Regions from separate parts of the Homo sapiens genome. Here all the other regions are linked to region 7. Evidence: promoter capture Hi-C in 16 types of primary human blood cells and fetal thymus (Javierre and others, 2016). All regions are on one chromosome and are shown on one strand. Each heading gives the region's core, a stretch centred on a gene start or on the middle of the fragment in contact. The rest is flanking DNA. Distances are from core to core; before and after follow the strand shown.

Region 1 (2,988 bases), core at 175-2,674, 410 kb before region 7:
CACACATTGAGTAATAAATACACAATTTAAACTTTACTGTACTCATTACTTGTCGGTCGAAGGATGGGGACTTTGGTGGGAGACAGAAGTGTCTGGGGGGCTTTACCCATAGTGATAAGATTTTATTTCTAAAGGTAGATGAGGAGTAAATGGAGGTTTAATATAATATTCTTGATATTTTTGTATAAGTCTAAAATACTTCATAATTTTAAAAAATTCAGAGTGGAAGAAATAAGTTTTTGAGCATCCACACCAACATATGTATATTTGTTTTATTTTATTTTTGAGACAGGGTCTCACTCTGTTGCCCAGGCTGGAGTGCAGTGGCAGGATCTCGGCTCACTGCAACCTCCACCTACCAGGCTCAAGCGATCCTCCCACCTCAGCCTTCCAAGTAGCTGGAATTACAGGCAACCGCCACCATGCCCAGCTAATTTTTTGTATTTTTAGTAGAGTCAAGGTTTCGCTATGTTGGCCAGGCTGGTCTTGAACTCCTGACGTCAGGTAATACACCCACCTTGGCCTCCCAAAGTGCTGAGATTACAGGTGTGAGCCACCGCGCCTGGCCCATATATGTATTTGTATTTCTGTTAATTTTACGTGCTAGATATTAATAGGTATTATTAAATGCCACTAAAATGTAAGTAAATATTAGTAATTCCATTAAAATTTAAACAATAGTAAATAAACATTAGTGAAATTGAATGTATTACTTCCATACCCCAGTAGATCTTTGTGGTTATTCCCTGGGGCATTTGCACCCCACTTTGGAGGGAGGACTTGCCATTTTAGCATGTTTTTTAAATTGTGGTTTGCAGAACACTTGCATCAGGATTTTCTAAGCTTTTTTTTTTTTTTTTTTTTTTTGAGATAGAGTTTCACTCTGTCACCCAGGCTGGAGTGCAGTGGTGTGATCTCGGCTCACTGCAACTTCTGCCCCCTGGGTTCAAGCAATTCTCCTGCCTCAGCCTACCAAGTAGCTAGGATTACAGGTGCCAACCACCGCACTCAGCCAATTTTTGTGTTTTTAGTGGAGACAGGGTTTCACCATGTTGGCCAGGCTGGTCTGTAACTCCTGACCTTGAATCTGCCTGCCTCGGCCTCCCAAAGTGCTGGGATTATAGGCGTGAGCCACTGCGCCCAGCCAGGATCTTATTAAAGATGCGGATTCTCTAGTCCCATGCTAACTGGGGACCAGGGACTAAAAGTCTGCATTTTTAGTAAGTGCCCTGGTGAGTCTAATGCAATGCTATAGAGCAATGAGGCTGTTCCAAGCTGTTTGCAAATGGCTGGGGATGCTGGTAAGTCAGGCCCAAGGCCTGCCCTCAGGTGGAACGGGCTGGGGTGGCCTCCTTCATCTGATTCACCTGTCTCCCCTTTTGCTCCAGGAAGCCGCTGCCAGTAGAGGATTCAGACTGCAGCTCTGATGAGACCAGCATCTCTGCCTTCTCATCCACCTTGCTGAACCCCATCAAATTAGCTGTGACCCAGCCCAACAGCAGCTTCTTTGCAGGGATGCTGGAGGGGGAGCTGAACAAACTCAGCTTCTCCCCAATGGCCAAGAATGCAGAAAATGAGGACCTGGCGCTCGGCCCCTGCCCATGCCCATCGAAGTCCCAGATGGCCACAAGGGGCCTGCTGGACCTTGACAACCCTGAGCTGGAGACAGAAACCTCCTCAACGCACTCAGAATCTTCTGTGGTTGTGGACCTGCCGGACACCCCCTTCATCTTTGAGCACACCGTCAACAATTCCACAGCTGTGGTGCGTTTCCCTTGCTCATGCGTTCAGCAGAGGCTTATTGTGCCAGGCACTGAGCTGAGCTCCATGGGTAGTGAGAAGGTGCCTGCCACCTGCATGTCGACCTCAAGTTCACGGTTTAGGAAGGGAGAGGATGTGTCTGTAAAAACTCCAGTGCAAGACAGAAAGGGTTCAGTGCTGTAGGAAAAGTTCAGAGCAAGTGCCACCAGGAATTCAGAGGGAAAGATATTTCCAGATGCGGGAATAAGCTTGGTGGCTTTTGGTAACATCTGAGCTGGGATGTAGAGGTAGCATGTAAACATCTAGAGGTGGAGGAGGGAGGCATTCCCTGGAGGGGCGGACCCTAGCAAAAGCTCACAGGAAAGTGAGGGAGGAAATCTCAATTTGAACAAGATGGTAGGTGATCTGTAGGAACATGAAAGCGTGAGAAGCCCTGGATGAGGACCTGGGATCGAGTGAGGCTACTCAGAATTGCTGGGCCTCCTCCCTAGAGGGTCTAGGGTGAAGCCTGATAATTTGCATTAGTAACAGATTCCCAGAGGATGCTGTGGCTCCCCGTCCGCGGGCTACACGTCGAACAACACCGTCCTACACTATGGGAAGTGAAGACAGGGGACAGGATGGGGAATGTTAGTCTGGGATCATCTTCCAGAGTCCTCCAGTGTTAGACTACTTTATAGACTTTTCTGTAAGTAATAGGGAACAGCTTTGTAAAAAGCTTCACATCAGATGATGAAAGCAATTCGAGCTGTATCTTGGGAGGATGCCTGGAATTCCACTGTTGGATGGCCCAGAGCAGTGTTTCTCAAAGTGCTCTCCAGATGGACAATGTCAGCATCACTCAGCAAATTGTTACAAATTTAAATTCTCATCTCCCTCCACCACATTTGGGCCTCCTGAGTCAGAAACTGTTGGGGCGGAGCCCAGTAATCTATCTTTTAATAAGTCCTCCAGGGTATTCTAATGCACACCAAGTTTGACAAACACTGGCCTAGATGGAGGAGAAACCAGACAGGAGGCAGCAGGCCCAGAAATCTGCAGTTACAAAATCTCCCTGAGATGCTTAGCCAGGCTTGGCAACCATTGTAGTACAAAGTGTATGGGCTCTGGAGCTATGGGTTTGAACACTGGCTGTCACTTAATTGCCGTATGATGATGGACCAGTCACTTGCCCTCTCTGGACCTAGTCGATAAGATGATCTCTAAGGTCCCTCTCAGCTAACAGAG
Region 2 (3,275 bases), core at 776-3,275, 340 kb before region 7:
TCCAGCCATTGTGACCTCATTGGAGTGGGGGTGGGATTCTTCCCTGGAACTCTCCTGAGGTGGTAGCACGCCTATTTTCCCACTGAGTCCAACTCTGCTTCTTTTCTTTCTTTTTTTGTTTTTTGTTTTTTTTTATTGATCATTCTTGGGTGTTTCTCGCAGAGGGGGATTTGGCAGGGTCATAGGACAATAGTGGAGGGAAGGTCAGCAGATAAACAAGTGAACAAAGGTCTCTGGTTTTCCTAGGCAGAGGACCCTGCGGCCTTCTGCAGTGTTTGTGTCCCTGGGTACTTGAGATTAGGGAGTGGTGATGACTCTTAACGAGCATGCTGCCTTCAAGCATCTGTTTAACAAAGCACATCTTGCACCGCCCTTAATCCATTTAACCCTGAGTGGACACAGCACATGCCCCAGAGAGCACAGGGCTGGGGGCAAGGTCACAGATCAACAGCATCCCAAGGCAGAAGAACCCTTCCCAGTACAGAACAAAATGAAGTCTCCCATGTCTACTTCTTTCTACACAGACACAGCAACAATCTGATTTCTCTATCTTTTCCCCACCTTTCCCCCTTTTCTATTCCACAAAACCACCACCGTCATCATGGCCCGTTCTCAATGAGCTGTTGGGTACACCTCCCAGACGGGGTGGTGGCCGGGCAGAGGGGCTCCTCACTTCCCAGAAGGGGCGGCCGGGCAGCGGTGCCCCCCACCTCCCGGACGGGGCAGCGGCCGGGCGGGGGCTGACCCCCCACCTCCCTCCCAGACGGGGCAGCTTGCCCGGCGGGGGCTGCCCCCCACCTCCCTCCTGGACGGGGCGGCTGCCGGGCAGAGAAGCTCCTCACTTCCCAGACGGGGCGGCTGCCGGGTGGAGGGGCTCCTCACTTCTCAGACGGGGCGGCTGCCGGGCGGAGGGGCTCCTCACTTCTCAGATGGGGCAGCTGCGGGGCGGAGGGGCTCCTCACTTCTCAGATGGGGCGGCCGGGCAGAGACGCTCCTCACCTCCCAGATGGGGTCGCGGCCAGGCAGAGGCGCTCCCCACATCTCAGACGATGGGCCCCCGGGCAGAGACGCTCCTCACTTCCTAGACGGGATGGCGGCCGGGAAGAGGCGCTCCTCACTTCCTAGATGGGATGGCGGCCGGGAAGAGGCGCTCCTCACTTCCCAGACTGGGCAGCCGGGCAGAGGGGCTCCTCACATCCCAGACAATGGGCGGCCAGGCGGAGACGCTCCTCACTTCCCAGGCGGGGTGGCGGCTGGGCAGAGGCTGCAATCTCGGCACTTTGGGAGGCCAAGGCAGGCGGCTGGGAGGTGGAGGTTGTAGCTAGCCGAGATCACGCCACTGCTCTCCAGCCTGGGCAACATTGAGCACTGAGTGAATGAGACTCCGTCTGCAATCCCGGCACCTCGGGAGGCCGAGGTTGGCAGATCACTCGTGGTTAGGAGCTGGAGACCAGCCTGGCCAACACAGCGAAACCCCGTCTCCACCAAAAAAATACGAAAACCAGTCAGGCGTGGCGGTGCGCACCTGCAATCGCAGGCTGAGGCAGGAGAATCAGGCAGGGAGGTTGCAGTGAGCCGAGATGGCAGCAGTACAGTCCAGCTTCGGCTCCGCATCAGAGGGAGACCGTGGAAAGACAGGGAAACGGAGACCGTGGGGAGAGGGAGAGGGAGAGGGAGAGCTCAGGTATCTTATACATTGTTTTCTTTCCTTCTCTTCTTTTGATCTTACCCACTTTTTTTTACAACTTAAAGCTTTTTTTTTTTTTTTTTTTTTTGAGACAGGGTCTCGCTCTCTCACCCAGGCTCAAGTGCAGTGACACAAACATGGCTCAAGCCCAGCTAATTTTTTTTTTTTTTTTGTAGAGACAGTGTTTTATTATGTTGCCCAGGCTAGTCTTGAACTCCTGGGCTCAGGCAATCTGCCCACCTTGGCCTTCGAAAGTGCTGGGATTACAGGTGTGAGTGACCAGACTGGTCCCAAAACTTTTTTAATGTTTAAATTTTACCACTATACTAAGGAGGAGTTACCCATCTTTTAATTGCCTTTTTTTCTTCTTATTAGGGAGGGGTAAGGAAGAAGACTTGGTCAGCAGAAAGCAGGTCTTAATTGCTTTTTTGTTTTGTTTTGTTGCTATTGAGTTGTTTGAGCTCTTTATATGTGTTGGATATTAACCCCTTATCAGATGTCTGGCTTGCAAATATTTTCTCCCATTCCATAGGTTATCTCTTTACTCTGTTGATTGTTTGCTGTGCAGAAGGTTTTTAGTTTGTTTGTTTTAGCTACACATCATGAACCAAGAAGCTTTTTACTTTGATATGATACCATTTGTCTATATTTAATTTTGTTGTCTGTGCTTTTGGGAACAAATCCAAAAAATCATTACCCAGACCAATGTCTTGTATGTTTCCCCTATGTTTTCTTTCTTTTTTTTTTTTTTTTTTAAAGGAGGCTGTCAGCTGATCCCCTATGTTTTCTTCTAGCAGTTTTAGGTTCTTGGTCTTAAAGGTCTCTTTTTTTTCTTTCTTTCCTTTTTTTTTTTTTTTTTTTTTTTTTGTTGGCAATTTTCCTGAGCAAACTAATGCAGGAATGTTTAAGTATGTAATCCATTTTGAACTAACTTTTGTATATGGTGTTGAAATAAGGGTCCAATTTTCTTTTTCTGCATGTGGAAATTCAGTTTTCCCTACACCATTTATTGAAAAAAGCGGTCTTTTTCTTCTTGGCATATTTGTTGAAAATCAGATTCATCTCTGGGCTTTCTATTCTGTTCCATTGGTTGATGTGTCTTTTTCTTTTTTGCCAATTCCATGCTGTTTTACACTTACTTGATCTTAGCCAAAAGGCAGAGAAGCGATTATTTCATACTATTTTAATTAGTATAGCTTTGTAGTATAGTTTAAAATCAGATAGTGTGATACCTCCAGTTTTTTCAACTTCAGAGAGCTCTGAAGCAAATATCTCCAGCTTTTTTTCTTTTTGCTCACGATTGCCTTGGCTTTTTTTTTTTTTTTTTTTTTGCAGTTTTGTATGAATTTTAATGTTTTTTGTTTTTTTTTGAGGCATGGTTTCATTCTCTTTCCCAGGCTGGAATGAATGTCACAATCATGGCTCACTGCAGCCTCAAACTCCTGAGCCCAAACAAGCAATCCTCCTACCTCAGCTCCTGGAGTAGCTGGTACCTCAGGCATGCATTGACAAACCTGGTAAAAAAATTTTTTTTTTTTTGGTAGAGGTGAACTCCTCGGCTCAAGCAGTTCTTCCACCTTGGCCTCCC
Region 3 (3,098 bases), core at 163-2,662, 360 kb before region 7:
AGTCTTTGCCCATGCCTATGTCCTGAATGGTATTGCCTAGGTTTTCTTCTAGGGTTTTTATGGTTTTAGATCTTACATTTAAGTCTTTAATCCATCTTGAGTTAATTTTTGTATAAGGTGTAAGGAAGGGATCCAGTTTCAGCTTTCTACATATGGCTAGCTAGTTTTCCCAGCACTATTTATTAAATAGGGAATCCTTTCATCATTTCTTGTTTTTGTCAGGTTTGTCAAAGATCAGATGGTTGTAGATGTGTGGTGTTATTTCTGAGGCCTCTGTTCTGTTCCATTGGTCTATATATCTGTTTTGGTACCAGTACCATGCTGTTTTGGTTACTGTAGCCTTGTAGTATAGTTTGAAGTCAGGTAGCGTGATACCTGACCCTGATGATGCCTCCAGCTTTGTTCTTTTTGCTTAGGGTTGTCTTGGCTATGCCTGCTCTTTCTTGGTTCCATATGAACTTTAAAGTAGTTTTTTCCAATTCTGTGAAGAAAGTCATTGGTAGCTTCATGGGAATGGCATTGAATCCATAAACTATCTTGGGCAGTATGGCCATTTTCATGATATTGATTCTTCCAATCCATGAGCATGGAATGTTCTTCCATTTGTTTGTGTCCTCTTTTATTTTGTTGAGCAGTGGTTTGTAGTTCTCCTTGAAGAGGTCCTTCACATCCCTTGTAAATTGGATTCCTAGGTATTTTATTCTGTTGGTAGCAGTTGTGAATGGGAGTTCACTCATGATTTGGCTCTCAAGGATCTAGAACTAGAAATAACATTTGACCCAGCAATCCCATTGCTGGGTATATACCCAAAGGACTATAAATCATGCTACTATAAAGACACATGCACACGTATGTTTATTGTGGCACTATTCACAATAGCAAAGACTTGGAACCAACCCAAATGTCCATCAATGATAGATTGGATTAAGAAAATGTGACACATATGCACCATGGAATACTATGCAGCCATAAAAAAGGATGAGTTCATGTCCTTTGCAGGGACATAGATGAAACTGGAAACCATCATTCTGAGCAAACTACCACAAGGACAGAAAACCAAACACCGCATGTTCTCACTCGTAGGTGGGAGTTGAACAATGAGAACACATGGACACAGGGCGGGGAACATCACACACCGGGGCCTGTTGGGGGTGGGGAGCTGGGGGAGGGATAACATTAGGAGAAATACCCTAATGTAAATGACGAGTTGATGGGCGCAGCAAGCCAACATGGCACGCACATGTATACCTATGTAACAAACCTGCACGTTGTGCACATGTACCCTAGAACTTAAAGTATTAAAAAAAAAAAGATATCCAGGTGGATAGTGGGATAAAATGTATTCCTCTTTGGAAGCAGGAGTATGTCAGCATGTACTGGGTTGGGATTCTTTTGGTTGCCAGTAGCAGAAAACTTAACTATAATAGGCCTAAGCATAAAGGAAATTTATTGGCTCATGTAGATAAAAAGTCTGGGGTAACAAGATTCAGGTGTGGCTTGATGCAGGGCTTACAAAGCTGCCTTAGGTTCCTGTTCTCTCTGTCTCTCCTCTCCTTTCTGTATTGCTTTAATTCTCAATGGGCTTTTCTGCTCTCTCATGGTTATAAGGGCAGTTCTGGCCTTCACATCTTCTTGGATCTACATCCAGGATGAGAGAGAGAGAGAGAGAGAGAGAGAGAGAGAGAGAATTTCTTTACTGCAATAATACAGAGGCTCTCCAGTTGGGTGATATCCAGAACCCACTGCTGTGGCCAGGATGCCATGCTATACAATTTAGTTGAGGCCCATGGTGCCCCTCCTAGAGCTGGGGGCAGTGTGATGCCACATAAACCATGCTGGCTGAGGATGTGGGAAGGACAGCACCAGAATGGAAGAATGGTCCCTGGGTGGCCAGAAAACCCCTATGGTCACGGCAGAAGACTCAAGGGTCTTTCTTCCTCCACCCTCCTACCCTAGGCAGAAGATCTTTAAGGAGAGGGCCTTGCCAGACATCGAGAACTACATGTTTGAGAATCATGATCAGCTGCGGCAGGCGGCCACCGAGTGCATGTGCAACATGGTGCTCCACAAGGAGGTGAGGCAGGGGCTCAGGATGGAGACCCGGGCGTGATCAAGGCACGAGAGGCAGGCCAGGGTCAGGGCCTGGGGTGAGATCGGGAGCTCTTATGATGGCATTAAGGTAGCATTTTGGGCAGAAAATCCAGGAATCCCTAAATATTTCCTAGATTATAGCCCCCCTCCCTGTAGGGGCCCTGAGAGAAAGATATGCATAAAGGAAAAAATACAAAGCTGGGGCTTTCAATCCAGACCCTGGGCTAGATGAGGTGGAAGGCACCATTTCCCTAAGTTACTTAGGCCCAAATAACCTTAAAACAAAGCAGGATATGAGACCAGGGCCTCTCAGAGGTCAAGGAAGGCTAGACCACTTGCATTTATTGAAGCTCCACATATATAAAAAAAATGAAGAAATGCCAAATACAGTTATCAGCCATTTTAGGATGTCTCAAATGTCAGCATTTAATGAACTACCACTGTTCCCATAGAAATTGCAATGCAATATAACTGTACTCAGCACAGAATAATTACAGGGTTTATAAAAATAAAATGAATTCAGAACATGCCGTAGGCTTCATGGTCCAGTCATGGGACAAATGATACCCATCTGGTGAATGTCTTCTTCTCCCCATCCTGTCAGAGTACTGCTGTGACTGTATGTGTAATCTTATCAGAGATAACAGCAGGGTCTAAGTTTGAGGCCCTTCATTAACATGAGGGCCAAGCCGAATGTCCCTCCTGGGCCCTCACATAGGGGCTAGCGTGAGACCCAGTCTGTTTACCCTCAACACCTGAACCTTAGACCTTCTCACTGTTATAGGGGAAAACCTAACCCATTAAAGCCGATTAAAGGCCAGGTATGGTGGCTCATGTCTGCAATCCCAACATTTTGGGAGGCTGAGGTGGATGCGTCACTTGAAGTCAGGAATTCGAGACCAGCCTGGCCAACATGGCAAAACCCTGTCTCTACTAAAAGTACAAACATTAGCCAGGCATGGTGGTGGGTGCTTGTAATCCCAGCTACTCGGGAGCCTGAGACATGA
Region 4 (3,468 bases), core at 599-3,098, 500 kb before region 7:
ACGGATCACCTGAGGTCAGAAGTTCGAGACCAGCCTGGACAACATGGTGAAACCCCGTCTCTACTAAAAATACAAAAAATTAGCCAGGCGTGGTGGCACATGCCTATAATCCCAGCTACTCAGGAGGCTGAGGCAGAAGAATCGCTTGAACCTGGGAGGCAGAGGTTGCAGTGAACCCAGATCGCACCATTGCATTCCTGCCTGGATGACAGAGCAAAACTGTCTCAAAAAAAAAAAAAAAAAAAAGGAAAAAAGAGCAACTGGAACTCTAATATTGCTGGTGGAAGTGTAAATTACTCCAATTTGGAAATTTTGTGTGTGTGTGCGCGCGCGTGCATATACACGCGCACCCACATCTCTTTCCATGGCTTTGCAATTCTGCTTCCAGGCATATACCCAACAGAAATACATTCACCCAAACAGTATACAGGAATATCCATGGAAGCCCTACTGTAATAGCCTCAAGCTGGAAACAACTGAAGTGTCCATCAACGGTAGAATTATGATATGTTCACAGAACAATGAGAAAAAACAAACAACTGATACATGCAATAGTACAGATGAATCTTATGTTGAGCAAAAGCAGGAGGCATAAATGAATACATGGGAAATGATTCGTTTTACATAAAATTCAAAAACAGGCAAACTATGGTGTTCAAAATCAGGATAGTGGTCATCCTGTGAGGTAGGATTACAGATGGAAGGCAGCCCAAGGGGCTTCTGGTAACATTGTTTCTTACTCTGAATGCTGATTATGTAGATATGTTGACTTTGTAAAAATTCATCGAACTGTACACTTATAATTTATATACTTCTCTAGTTACATTTGAATTAAAAGTTTATATGAGTGTTGTGTTTTGTTTTGAGATAGGGTGTCTCACTCTGTTGCTCAGGCTGGAGTGCAGTGTTGCGACCATGGCTCACTGTAACCTGGACCTCCCAGGCTTACGTGATCCTCCTGCCACAGCATGCCGAGTAGCTGGGACTACAGGCGCGCACCACCACACCTAATTTTTTGTATTTTTTTGTCTAGATGGGGTTTCATCAAGTTGCCCAGGCTGATCTCGAACTCCTGGGCTCAAGCAATCCACCCGCCTCAGCCTCCCAAAGTGCTGGGATTACAGACATGGGCCCCTGCACCCAGCCCATATGACAGATTTTTTTCTTTTCTTTTTTTTGAGACGCAGTCTCGCTCTGTCGCCAGGCTGGAGTGCAGTGGCGCAACCTCGGCTCACTGCAACCTCCGCCTGCTGGGTTCAAGCGATTCTCACGCCTCAGCCTCCCGAGTAGCTGGGATTACAGGCACGTGCCATCACACCCAGCTAATTTTTGTATTTTTAGTAGAGACGGCGTTTCACCATGTTGGGCAGGATGGTCTTGATCTCCTAACGTCATGATCCGCCCACCTCGGCCTCCCAAAGTGCTGGGCTTATAGGCATGAGCCACAACGCCCAGCCAATGACAGATTTTTTAAAGCACCTAGTCAAATATTTGTAATTTGTAAAAAATAACAAAAAAATAAAAAATAAAACCCCATTTTGACCCCACATTCTCCCCCTCCCCAGTAAAGCTCTTTTTCTGTGATCTCCTCTAAATCAAATTTCTCCAAATATTTGACTCCACTTTTTTTTTTTGAAACGGAATTTCACTCTTGTTGCCCAGGCTGGAGTGCAATGGCACGATCTCAGTTCACTGCAACCTCTGCCTCCCGGGTTCAAGCAATTCTCCTGCCTCAGCCTCCCGAGTATCTGGGATTACAGGCATACAACTCCATGCCCAGCTAATTTTGTATTTTTAGTAGAGACGGCTTCTCCATGTCGGTCAGACTGGTCTCAAACACCCAACCACAGGTGATCTGCCCACCTCGGCCTCCCAAAGTGCTGGGATTACAGGCATGAGCCACCGCATCTGGCCGACTCCACTTTCTTAACCTCTAATTCACTCTTAAACCTTCTCCAATCTAGCTTGAGCCAACCACCATTCCTAATCTCTTCAAGGTCACCAAGGAATTCCAAGTGGCCAGATCTAATTGACACTTCTCTATCCTCATCTTAATCTCTCAGCAATGCTGGACACAAGCGACTCTCCCCCTCTAAACATCTCTTAGCTTCTAGCACTCTGCCCCCGTGGCTTTCCTCCTACCTCAAAGCCTTTTTGCTGCTTCTTACCCCTCCCTCTGTTCTTAAATGTTGTGAGTGTCCAGGCTGTCTTAGGCCTCCCTCTCCAACCACACCTCAGGTTGCTTTAAATACCTTTCTTGGCCGGGTGTGGTGGCTCACACCTGTAATCCCAGCACTTTGGGAGGCCAAGGCGGGCAGATCACTTGAGGTCGGGAGTTCAAGACCAGCCTGGCCAACATGGTGAAACCCCGTCTCTACTAAAAATATAAAAAATTAGCCAGGCATGGTGGCAGGCACCTATAGTCCCAGCCACTTGGGAGGCTGAGGTAGGAGAATCACTTGAACCTGGAAGGCAGAGGTTGCAGTGAGCTGAGATCATGCCACTGCACTCCAACCTGGGCGACAGAGCGAGACTCTCTCTCAAAAAAAAAAAAAGTAAAAAAAAAATAAAAAATACTTTTCTTAAATCAAAGATGCATAAATTCCTACCTTCATCTCCCCTGCTCCTGCTGGTGGGTTAAAACATCATCTTTCATATATTAATCACATTTCCCTCCTTAGGCCCTTTAGATTTGTTGTTTGTTCCTTCTGCCTGGATTGGTCTCCCTAGAACTTCCTATGCTTAGCTCCTTCTTGTCATCCAAACATCAGCTTTAATGTCTTTTTTTTTTTTTTTTTTTTTTTGGTGTGTGTGTGTGTGTGTGTGTGTGTGTGAGGGAGAGAGAGATAGGGTCTCTCTCCAAGCTGGAGTGCAGTGGCTTGATCATAGCTCACTGTAATCTCGAACTCCTGGGCTCTAAGGATCCTCCTGCGTCAGGCTCCCAAAGCTCTGGGATTACAGGTGTGAGCTACCACGACCAGCCTTTTAATGTCATTTTCTAATTTCACCATAACATTTGGTATTAGCTGATATTATTTGCTTATTTATTAACTGCTTTCCCTAACTAGAATAGAAACCCCATGAGGGCAGGGACTTTGTGCTCTACCGAATTTCCAGAGTCTAGAATGGCTTCTTGGGTAAAAGAACAGCCTCCTAACGGGTTTCCTAGCTTTAATTCTTGCCTCTATCCACCTATTTCTCCACAAGGCATCACCCACTGCCCTCCTCCCCTCAACACACACACTTAAAGCTCTTTAATGTTGCTTGTTCCTAGAAGTGATCTTCCTTGGATGGATTATCCAAGGCATCCACCCAATGAAAGAAATCATGTTAACTCTTTGTACATAAAAATGTTTAAAAACTCTTCAAAAAAAAGTTCTTTAATGGACTCCTATTGCATTTTAGAATAAAAATAATCACTTCTTACATGGTTAAAGACCCTGACCACTTCTCCAATTCATGCCGTGC
Region 5 (2,589 bases), core at 1-2,500, 430 kb before region 7:
TAGGACACATTACAGGACAAGCTTGCTTTTCTATCTAAAACTAGTAAGAAATAGCCCCCCCATCCCAAATACAGCAAGCTGCACGGGCATCACAGAATGTCATCAGCAGCAATGTCTCCCTCGTCCCATTGGCATGTGTAACAGACTTCAATGAAGACTTGGGTAGAAAGAAAGGGTTTAAATCACAGGACATCAAAACTACACTAAAGTGGCTGGGCGCAGTGGCTCACGCCTGTAATCCCAGCACTTTGGGAGGCCAAGGCGGTGGATCACTTGAGGTCAGGAGTTCGAGACCAGCCTGGCCAACATGGTGAAACCCCGTCTCCACTAAACATACAAAAATTAGCTGGGCGTGGTGGTGCACACCTGTAATCCCAGCTACTCAGGAGGCTGAGGCAGGAGAATCGCTTGAAACTGGGAGGCGGGGGTTGCAGTGAACTGAGATCACACCGCTGCATTCCAGCCTGGGCGACAGAGCAAGACTCTGTCTCAAAAAAAATAAAATAAAATAACTAAAAACTACATTAAAGTCATCAAATTTCAGAAAGCTCCGCAGAGAGTCCTGAGGCCTCTGGTCATGGATCTCTCAGCAGCCATCTCTCTCCTGTGTCCAGCCTCCCACCATGGTGGTAAGGCCCTTCTTTTCCTTTTCTGACTCCCTCCTTTCTTTCCCTTGTCCTGCTAACTACCACCCTCAAATTCCTAACTTCCTTTGCTGAAGAGTTTAGCCTTCTCTTTACTTCACTGTCTCCTTCTAGATCATGCCTCTAGGCCTCATCTTCCGTATCTAAAATGCCTCCAAATAAATTCCCTAAGTCTTGCTCTGTCACCCAGGCTGGAGTGCAGTGGCATGATCTCAGCTAACTGCAACCTCTGCCTCCTCGGTTCAAACGATTCTCATGCCTCAGCTTCCTAAGTAGCTGTGACTATGGGTGCACACATTGGGTGCACACTACGGGTGCTAATTTTTGTATTTTTAGCAGAGACGGGGTTTTACCGTGTTGGCCAGGCTGGTCTCGAAATCCGGCCTCAAGTGATCTGGCCACTTTGGCCTCCCAAAATGCCAGGATTACAGGCATGAGCCACCAAGCCTAGCCTGTGCCATCTTTCTAACCATAATTTTCTGTCTTTACACAAGCAGGAGAATCCTCCTGGTTTCCCTGGACTTAAACTGTTTTTGATGCTTCTTTTCTCTTCTCCCTTACTTCTTATATCCTGATTCTGGTTCTTTTTCTTTTCTTCTTTCTTTTTCTTTTTTTTTTTTTTAAGACAGGGTCTTGCTATGCTGCCCAGGCTGGTCCTGAACTCCTGGGCTCAAGTGATCCTCCTGCCTTGGCCTTCCAAAGCATTGGGATTTTAGGCGTGAGCCACCGCTCCTAGTCTCAGATTCTTAACCCCTAGAAACTGTGAGATAAGAAATACTATGTCTTAAGCCACTAAGGTTTTGGTAACTTATTATGCAATAATAGAAGATATATCATCTAATGGTCCTACAGTAAAAAATACAGTCTTCTGATCTGGAATTGAGAGGTTTGGGCTATAAGGTTAGTTCTTGCCCTAAATATTTGGTCAACTTTGGTCAACTCACTTCACTTCTCCGGCCTTCACTCTTCTCATCTCTAAAAGTGAGGTAAGCACTACTCAGCTTCATGTCTCAACAAGCTGGTGGGTCATAACCAGCTATGACTTCTGAGGTAAGTATTTGTTCAACATTTTTTTTTAAAGACGGGGTCTAGCTCTGCTGACCAGGCTAAGGTACAGTGGTATGATCATAGCTCACTGCAACCTCCAACTGCTAGGCTCAAGCAATCCTCCCGTCTCAGCCTCTGGAGTCATTAGGATTACAGGTGTGGGCCACCACTCCCAGCTTGTTCAACTATTATATGTTCTAAAGTTTGTAAAAATCATTGACTTTATATATAGTCGTGGGGATGCCCGTGTGAACACGTCATGCTTTGGGGTGAGAGGAAAAGTTTGAGATAAACTATTCTATCTTTAAGGTATCCTCCACATCTAGTCATTTATAAATCAGTGCACCAAATCCTGTCTAAGCACCCAACATGAGTAGCAAAGTGCCAACCCAAATGCCATTCTAAATCCTTCCCATTAACATGACTCTGAATGTGTTCAGCGACTGGGCAGAAATCTGACTTCAGGGATGGTGGGCCCAGGTCTTAGTCCAAGATACACACATAACCCCATTTTGGCCAACTAGATGTAAGGGGAAGAGGGACGTCTATTAGTGGGCTCTGGAGAAAGATTCTTCATCCCTGATAAAAGGGAGGAGGTACAGAAAAGAACCATCTATCTTTTACTGCCTTGAATATGGATGTGGATGTGTGAAGACAAGATGCTTGGAGCTTTGGCAGCCTCTTTGCAACCATGAGGGGAAGAACAAGAAAATCAGACACACAAATCTATTGCCCTGATAGCATGGACCTGCCAACCTCCCAACTCATGTGACATAATTAAATGTCCTCAAGCTTCAAGTCTCTGTCAGACAACCTCTATTACTTGCAGCTAAAAGTATTCCTCACTCACCTAGTGGGGAATGCAGACATAAATATGACATGATCCTTCCACTCAGGG
Region 6 (2,982 bases), core at 470-2,969, 480 kb before region 7:
TTGAAGTATAAAAGAAAAACCTGAGAGGTTGGAGTACGCACACCATTAATTTCAATCAAGGTCTCTAACCACAACCAGGGCCTTCCCATAGGTCAGGCAGGTTCAGAGTACCTCCTCCTCCTACCTTGATGATAAAGTGGCCTTGTAAAAGGCAAGACCGTTAGCACTTGCCTATCGAGCAAAGGCACCATTTCTGTGGAACCTGATAGAGTATATTTAACTACTATATTAAGAGACAAACCAGCTGCTTAATGCAGTGTAAGAACCATGTTTTCTCTCTGAGTCTTACCTAAATGTATATATGCTTTGGTATCAGACTAGCTTTATAATCACTGGTAAAATAGGGATAATAAATAAAGCCTACCCAACGCAAATAAAACCATATGAGGGAAATAATTTTGTAAAACACCATAAAAATGTCGTGATATTGCGGGACTAGATCTCAGCAAACCCTTTAAATCTTCAAATTAACTTTGAATGATTACTTGATGGTGGCAGGTAACACATACAAAATAAGCAGCCATGGGCTCATGTTCATCAAATAGGAATGAAAAACCATGCCATCTAACAAAAAAGCTTCTAATATTGCAAAGAATAACGGTTTGAGCCCGGAGATCCACGTCAGCCACTCTCTCTGATGGTGCCAAGCTCTAGTCCAGGGACACCAAGTTCAGTCAAAGAACTCAACAGTCTAGTGGAAGAGACAGACAGTGCTGTCTGTCAGAAAAGACAGAGAAGTCAGAGAAGATGCATATATGAACTAAGTGTCCTGAGGGATGAGTATCTTGCCAGTTAGAGAAGGGAGAGTCCATTGGGAAAAGGCAGAGTCCTAAAAGACATGGTATATCCATGGAATGTTAACATGAGAAGTTCAGTGAAGCTGGAGAGGAGAGAAATGGCCAGGGGAGAGGGAGATGAGATGGTTAACAGCAACATGTAGGAAAGAATCCAACTGTGAAAGCTTTTAGAAGTCAAGCTAAGTGGAAAACAGGGAACAAATGGCACCTTAAATGAAAAGATTAGATGTGGACTTTAAAAAGATAACTTGGGCAACAATATGGAGAAGATAGGAGCAAGGAAAGACTTATGGAGGAGTGGCCATTTGATAAGGGTCTGAACTAGGAGTTACAAACTCAAATTCCTAGAGGCAATGCAGGTAAAATGCTAAGTCTTCAGTGTGTAAGATGTCAGAAAATGGTGGTATCCGTAATCTTTGAAGAGTACAGGCCTTCTCTCTGATGGTGCCTAAAAGTATTCACACACAAAATTTTAAGCCCTTAGGCTGACTGATTGATTTTTGGGATGGAGTCTTCTTCTGTGCCTAGGCTGGAGTTCAGTGGCACAATCTCAGCTCATTGAAACCTCCACCTCCTGGGTGCAAGCAATTCTCTTTTCTCAGCCTGCTGGGTAGCTGGTACCACAGGCACTGGCCACCATGCGTGGCGTGCCTTTTTTTTTTTTTTTAAATACAGACAGGGTTTCACCATGTTGGCCAGGATGGTCTCAAACTCTTTTTTTTTTTTGATATGGAGTCTCACTGTTGCTCAGGCTGGAGTGCAGTGGTGTGATCCTCGCTCACTGCAACCTCCACCTCCTGGGTTCAAGTGATTCTCCTGCTTCAGCATCCTGAGTAACTGGGATTATAGGCACGTGCCACCACGCCCAGCTAATTTTTTGTTTTTAGTAGAGATGGGGTTTCACCATGTTAGCCAGGCTGGTCTCAAACTCCTGACCTCAGGTGATCTGCCCACCTCGGCCTCCCAAAGTGCTGGGATTACAGGCGTGAGCCACCGTGCCCAGCCTGACTTTAAACGTCCAGTTTTGACCTCTGGTAAATTAAGGCAATGACAGTGGGAATGAAGAAAAGCCACACATCAAACAGTACTCCAACAAAATCAACAGGGTTTAGCACATTTAAAGATGTGAGCATAAAAAGAATGAACAAGGCCGGGCGCGGTGGCTCACACCTGTAAACCCAGCACTTTGGGAGGCCAAGGCAGGTGGACCATGAGGTCAAGAGATCGAGACCATCCTCGCCAACATGGTGAAACACTGTCTCTACTAAAAATACAAAAATTAGCTGGGCGTGGTGGCACGTACCTGTAGTCCCAGCAACTCAGGAGGCTAAGGCAGGAGAATCGCTTGAACCAGGAAGGCAGAGGTTGCAGTGAGCTAAGATCACACCACTGCACTGCAGCCTGGGTGACAGAGCAAGATTCCTCTCAGAAGAAAAAAAAAAGAGTTGATGAGAGGATCAGAGTTGAGAAAGTACAGTACAGGCTCTTGCTCATTCTACCCTTACTGAGAACCTACTATGTGCAACGTACCATGGATACAATTCTAGCAAAGCAGACCCTGATTCTCAATACATACTATGATTGGAGTAAATACCAGGTTCTCCTGAGTACTCAACCCTGGTAAGTAAGAAGAGGCTTCATGGAAGAGGTGACTTCTAGGCTGAAACCAGTTGGCCAGATTAAGCTTGGGGAAGGTGTGTAAAAGAACGCTTACATATGCTAAGGTCTGAGGTGAAAGAGAACGTGGGCAATTTGTTGGAATTATAAGGAGCAGAAACGTAATTTGGAGGGTGACGACTACCTAGAGATATCATAGTCTGATTAGGTGAAGGACTCAAAAGTTTGGCGATGAAAAGCAGGAGGGAGATAGAGTAGTAGCCTAGTAGAATTAGAGATGAGGGAGGTTCTTCCTATTAATTCAGAAAGGAATATGGGAACAAACTCACTGATAAGACAGTGTTCTCCACAACTCAATATTTAGTTATTAGGAAGGCAACCAAATGCCTTCACTTCTTTTCCTTTAACAATGGCTTAGTTTGACTAAAGTGTTTCTCACAAGATACACACAAAAAAACAAAATACAAGAGCAAATGACGGATAAAGCTGTAAACCTAACGTTTTACTTTTCTAAGATTTATATAATCAGTGATTTAATTGGACCTAACTCCACATCCAGAACTCAAAT
Region 7 (3,427 bases), core at 912-3,411:
TGCTCTGTCATCCAGGCTGGAGTGCAGTGGTGCAGTCATAGCTCACTGCAGCCTTCACCACCCGAACTCAAGCAGTCCTCCCACCTCAGCCTCCCAAGTAGCTGGGACTACAGGTGTACGCCACCATGCCTGGCTAGCTTTTTTTGTTTTTGTTTTTGAGATGGATTCTTGCTCTGCCGCCAAGGCTCGAAGGCAGTGGCAGGATCTCAGCTAACCGCACCCTCCACCTCCTGGGTTCAAGTGATCTTTCCACCTCAGCCTCCTGAGTAGCTGGAATGACAGGCACGCACCACCACTCCCAGGTAATTTTTGTATTTTTAGTAGAGACAGGGTTTTACCATGTTGGCCAGGCTGGTCTTGAACTCCTGACCTCAAATGATCCACCTTCCTCGGCCTCCCAAAGTGCTGGGATTACAGGCGTGAGCCACCACACCCGGCCCTGGCTAGTTTGTTTGTTTGTTTGTTTGTTTGTTTGTTTGTTTTGTAGAGATGGGGTCTTGCTATGTTATCCAGGCTGTTCTCAAACTTCTGGGCTCAAGCGATCTTCCCACCTTGGTCTCCCAAAGTGCTGGGATTACAGGCATGAGCAACCACATCCGGCCAAAAATCTAGACTCTTAATCATTGTGCAAACTGGTCTCCCAAATTATTAGGCCTCTTGGAAGACAAGAGAGTTTTCATTACTCTGGTAAGAATAACCATTCTGGAATAATCTCCCTGGTATTTGTGATAGCATTTATTTTATAAAACACATTTGATAACAAGAAAAACATAGGTCTATTTCTGTTAAACACAGGCAAGCAAAAGTCACATGTAAAAACACAGCTAGACAGAACATCTAGGGCCTTCACAAGTATCTGCTTTAATTAATGTTGGTAAACAAAAAGACCCAATGCAGTGACACATTTGCAAACATTATATCTAAATCCAACTAGATCACAGTTTCCCAGTCAATATAGCTTAAGTTTCTCTGAAAACAAAATAGTTTATATATTACGAAAAACAAAAAAACACAGTTGGGCTCAGTGGCTCATGCATGTAATCCCAGCACTTTGGGAGGCTAAGGTGGGCAGATTGCTTGAGCCCAGGAGTTTGAGACCAGTCTGAGCAAGGAAATCCAGTCTCTACAAAATATAAAAAAATTAGCTGGGTGTGGTGGTGCATGGTCTATAGTCCCAGCTCCTCGAGAGTCTGAGACGGGAGGATCACTTGAGCCTAGGGAGGTTGAGACTGCAGTGAGCCACGATTGCATCACTGCACTCCAGCCTGGGTGACAGAGTGAGAGCCTGTCTCAAAAAAAAAAAAATAAGAAAAATAAGAAACCCCTTTTCATAGTGATGAAGCAATCAGCTAACTGCTAAAGAATCTTCACAGGCGAGGCTGGGTACGGTGGCTAATGTCTATAATCCCAGCACATTGGGAGGCCAAGGTGGGACGATTACTTGAGGTCAGGAGTTTGAAACCAGCCTGGTCAATCTAGCAAGACTTCCTCTCTACAGAAACGAAAAAAATTAGCCAGGCACCCTCACGCTCAGTGCCTGTAGTCCCCGCACTTTCAAAGGCTGAAGCAGGAGGATCCTTTGAGCCCTGGAAGGTCGAAGCTGCAGTGAGTTGTGATCGCACCACTGCACGACAGCCTGGGCGAAAGAGTGAGAACCTGTCTCAAAAAAAAAAGAGAATCTTCACAGGCATCCCTTCCTCCCAAGTCTCCTCACTTGTCTTATCTGAAGGTTTGTTCCCCAGAACTATGAGAACCCTCTACATCTCTTTCTCTCAGCCCAGCCAGGTTCCTCTGGGCTTGAGTCCTACATCCCTGGCCTCAGCTACAAGGTGAGTACAGTCTAAGGACCAGCTCCTCTCATTGTCTATTTCACTTATTTATTAAAAGTGTAGACCTAAAGTGTCTACTTCATCCTCTCTTGCCTAAAGTGGGTATATCTGGAAAAGTCTGTAGCCACAGAGGAGATTTTCATCTTAGAGTTATGAGGTCTCTTTGAGAGACTCTCCATTCCATTGAATAAGCATGGCTTAGATCTCTCTGGACAATCTGTACTTACCTTGGGAGTTAAAAGATTCCACAGGGTTGAGATGCTGAAAAGATGAGAAAGTTCCAGGAGCTCTGATCTACTTAGGAGTCCCTGCAGTTTGGCTGAGGACAGTGGTAATCCTCAAAGGCTAGAAATGGCTTTCAAATCTGAGCGCTCTGCAGAACAAGTCCAGGAAAAATGCTGCTTTGGTATTTCTGAGAATGAAACTAGAAGGTTGCCGCCTTTTTAAAGTTTCCATTTCTCAGAATTCTCCTACTCATTTTAGGCCTGCCATTCTAGCCTCAAGGGGGGAATATGTGCTATTTCCTGTTTATCAATAGACTAAGTGGGCCAAAGACTAGTTCTGGCTAAAGACTAAAGAAACTTTATCAGAAGAAATGCTTCAAACACTTTGGAGAATAATGCTACAAAAAAGCTTTTTTGGATACACACCAAACTGTTATTAAGGATTACTTTCTCAGAAGTAGAACTGGAGAGGAAGAAGATGGAAAGGGAGGAGAGAATTGTTACTTTGTACAGTAGGCCTGAGTTACTCAACAAATATTTTTTATTGGCAAGGAAAAGGGAAAAAACAAAACAAAAAGAAACAGTGAAAGAGCCAGAAAGGAAATTAAACAGTGCATCTCACTGACTTTCTCATTCAATTTTTATAGTAGCCTCCATAATCCTAATAGTTGTTGTAATTAGAGCCGAGATGGATTCACTGCTATTAATTTAGCTGCTAATACTGTTGCTATTGTTCTGATCAAGTTTCTGCTACTTTTTGACCTGCTGTCTCCCTCAACAGCTGTAGGAGTCACAATTCCCTTGAGCTCTTGTTGGTTTCTTGTTCCATTTTTTTTGGGTTTCTATCCTTATACATTGAAAAAATTATTACAGTGTGGATTTAGCAATCATTTTTAGCTATAAGAAAAGGTGCTGTGCACTAGAGGGAATTGAATTAGAGATGTCATTCGTTAATCAGATAATTAGTTCCCAATCTTGGCTGCTTGTTCAAATCTTTTGGCATGCTTTTTAAAAATTCAGATGCTAAGGTCCTTCCCCAGACATTCTGAATTATACTGTCAAGTAGTGGTGCAATATCAGGAGGTAGAGACATATCACATATACACAACACACACATATAGGCATAAACATAAAGACAGACACAAATAGATCTTATAATTTTCATTTAAAATCTTAGCCATGATTAGGTATACATAAACACAAAATTTAATAATTTTGATAAAAATTGATTCTCATCTTTGCCTATTAATATTTTCTTTCGATCTCATCTTTCCATAGACATTTGTTTAGGATGACAGCTTTCTTTTAAAAAAAAATCCTTTTAGATATAAAAGTTCAAATCTTCAAAGGTATACCTGTCTTAATTGTGACTCA

Evidence for each region. Contacts are between HindIII fragments. The CHiCAGO score rates a contact against its expected background, and 5 or more counts as called.
Region 1: a fragment that was not itself captured here is called in contact with the fragment with the promoter of SLFN12L in region 7 in 2 of 17 cell types (naive CD4 T cells and fetal thymus); the score reaches 8.0 in naive CD4 T cells.
Region 2: a contact is called between a fragment that was not itself captured here and the fragment with the promoter of SLFN12L in region 7, in 12 of 17 cell types (non-activated CD4 T cells, total CD8 T cells, naive CD4 T cells and 9 more). The highest score is 17.0, in non-activated CD4 T cells.
Region 3: a fragment that was not itself captured here is called in contact with the fragment with the promoter of SLFN12L in region 7 in 16 of 17 cell types (naive CD8 T cells, M0 macrophages, M2 macrophages and 13 more); the score reaches 72.9 in naive CD8 T cells.
Region 4: a fragment that was not itself captured here is called in contact with the fragment with the promoter of SLFN12L in region 7 in 4 of 17 cell types (non-activated CD4 T cells, activated CD4 T cells, total CD4 T cells and 1 more); the score reaches 6.6 in non-activated CD4 T cells.
Region 5: a contact is called between a fragment that was not itself captured here and the fragment with the promoter of SLFN12L in region 7, in 3 of 17 cell types (activated CD4 T cells, naive CD4 T cells and total CD4 T cells). The highest score is 6.2, in activated CD4 T cells.
Region 6: a contact is called between a fragment that was not itself captured here and the fragment with the promoter of SLFN12L in region 7, in 5 of 17 cell types (activated CD4 T cells, non-activated CD4 T cells, naive CD4 T cells and 2 more). The highest score is 11.0, in activated CD4 T cells.

What each region holds. Positions count from the first base shown.
Region 1 is chr17:35,125,654-35,128,641 of GRCh38, forward strand. FNDC8 (fibronectin type III domain containing 8) reads left to right here. Exons shown (of 4, transcript NM_017559.4): 2 at 1,389-1,764. Among named protein-coding and RNA genes, the nearest start is that of FNDC8, 5.5 kb to the left of the region's middle. The HindIII fragment of the contact is 1,166 bases long and covers 842-2,007 here.
Region 2 is chr17:35,194,364-35,197,638 of GRCh38, forward strand. SLC35G3 (solute carrier family 35 member G3) reads right to left here and starts at 30. Exons shown (of 1, transcript NM_152462.2): 1 at 1-30. The HindIII fragment of the contact is 550 bases long and covers 1,751-2,300 here.
Region 3 is chr17:35,178,603-35,181,700 of GRCh38, forward strand. UNC45B (unc-45 myosin chaperone B) reads left to right here. Exons shown (of 20, transcript NM_001267052.2): 18 at 1,957-2,074. Among named protein-coding and RNA genes, the nearest start is that of SLC35G3, 14 kb to the right of the region's middle. The HindIII fragment of the contact is 8,641 bases long and covers 1-3,098 here.
Region 4 is chr17:35,038,061-35,041,528 of GRCh38, forward strand. The region is part of intron 1 of RFFL (ring finger and FYVE like domain containing E3 ubiquitin protein ligase); the gene reads right to left. The region is part of intron 5 of RAD51L3-RFFL (RAD51L3-RFFL readthrough); the gene reads right to left. Among named protein-coding and RNA genes, the nearest start is that of RFFL, 24 kb to the right of the region's middle. The HindIII fragment of the contact is 4,406 bases long and covers 1-3,468 here.
Region 5 is chr17:35,103,587-35,106,175 of GRCh38, forward strand. The region is part of intron 6 of RAD51D (RAD51 paralog D); the gene reads right to left. All of the region lies in intron 2 of RAD51L3-RFFL (RAD51L3-RFFL readthrough), which reads right to left. Among named protein-coding and RNA genes, the nearest start is that of RAD51D, 15 kb to the right of the region's middle. The HindIII fragment of the contact is 2,462 bases long and covers 20-2,481 here.
Region 6 is chr17:35,060,178-35,063,159 of GRCh38, forward strand. The region is part of intron 1 of RFFL (ring finger and FYVE like domain containing E3 ubiquitin protein ligase); the gene reads right to left. The region is part of intron 5 of RAD51L3-RFFL (RAD51L3-RFFL readthrough); the gene reads right to left. Among named protein-coding and RNA genes, the nearest start is that of RFFL, 2.0 kb to the right of the region's middle. The HindIII fragment of the contact is 1,520 bases long and covers 960-2,479 here.
Region 7 is chr17:35,535,517-35,538,943 of GRCh38, forward strand. SLFN12L (schlafen family member 12 like) reads right to left here and starts at 2,162. Exons shown (of 5, transcript NM_001363830.2): 1 at 2,057-2,162. RefSeq lists an enhancer at 1,490-1,569. The HindIII fragment of the contact is 3,143 bases long and covers 1-2,460 here.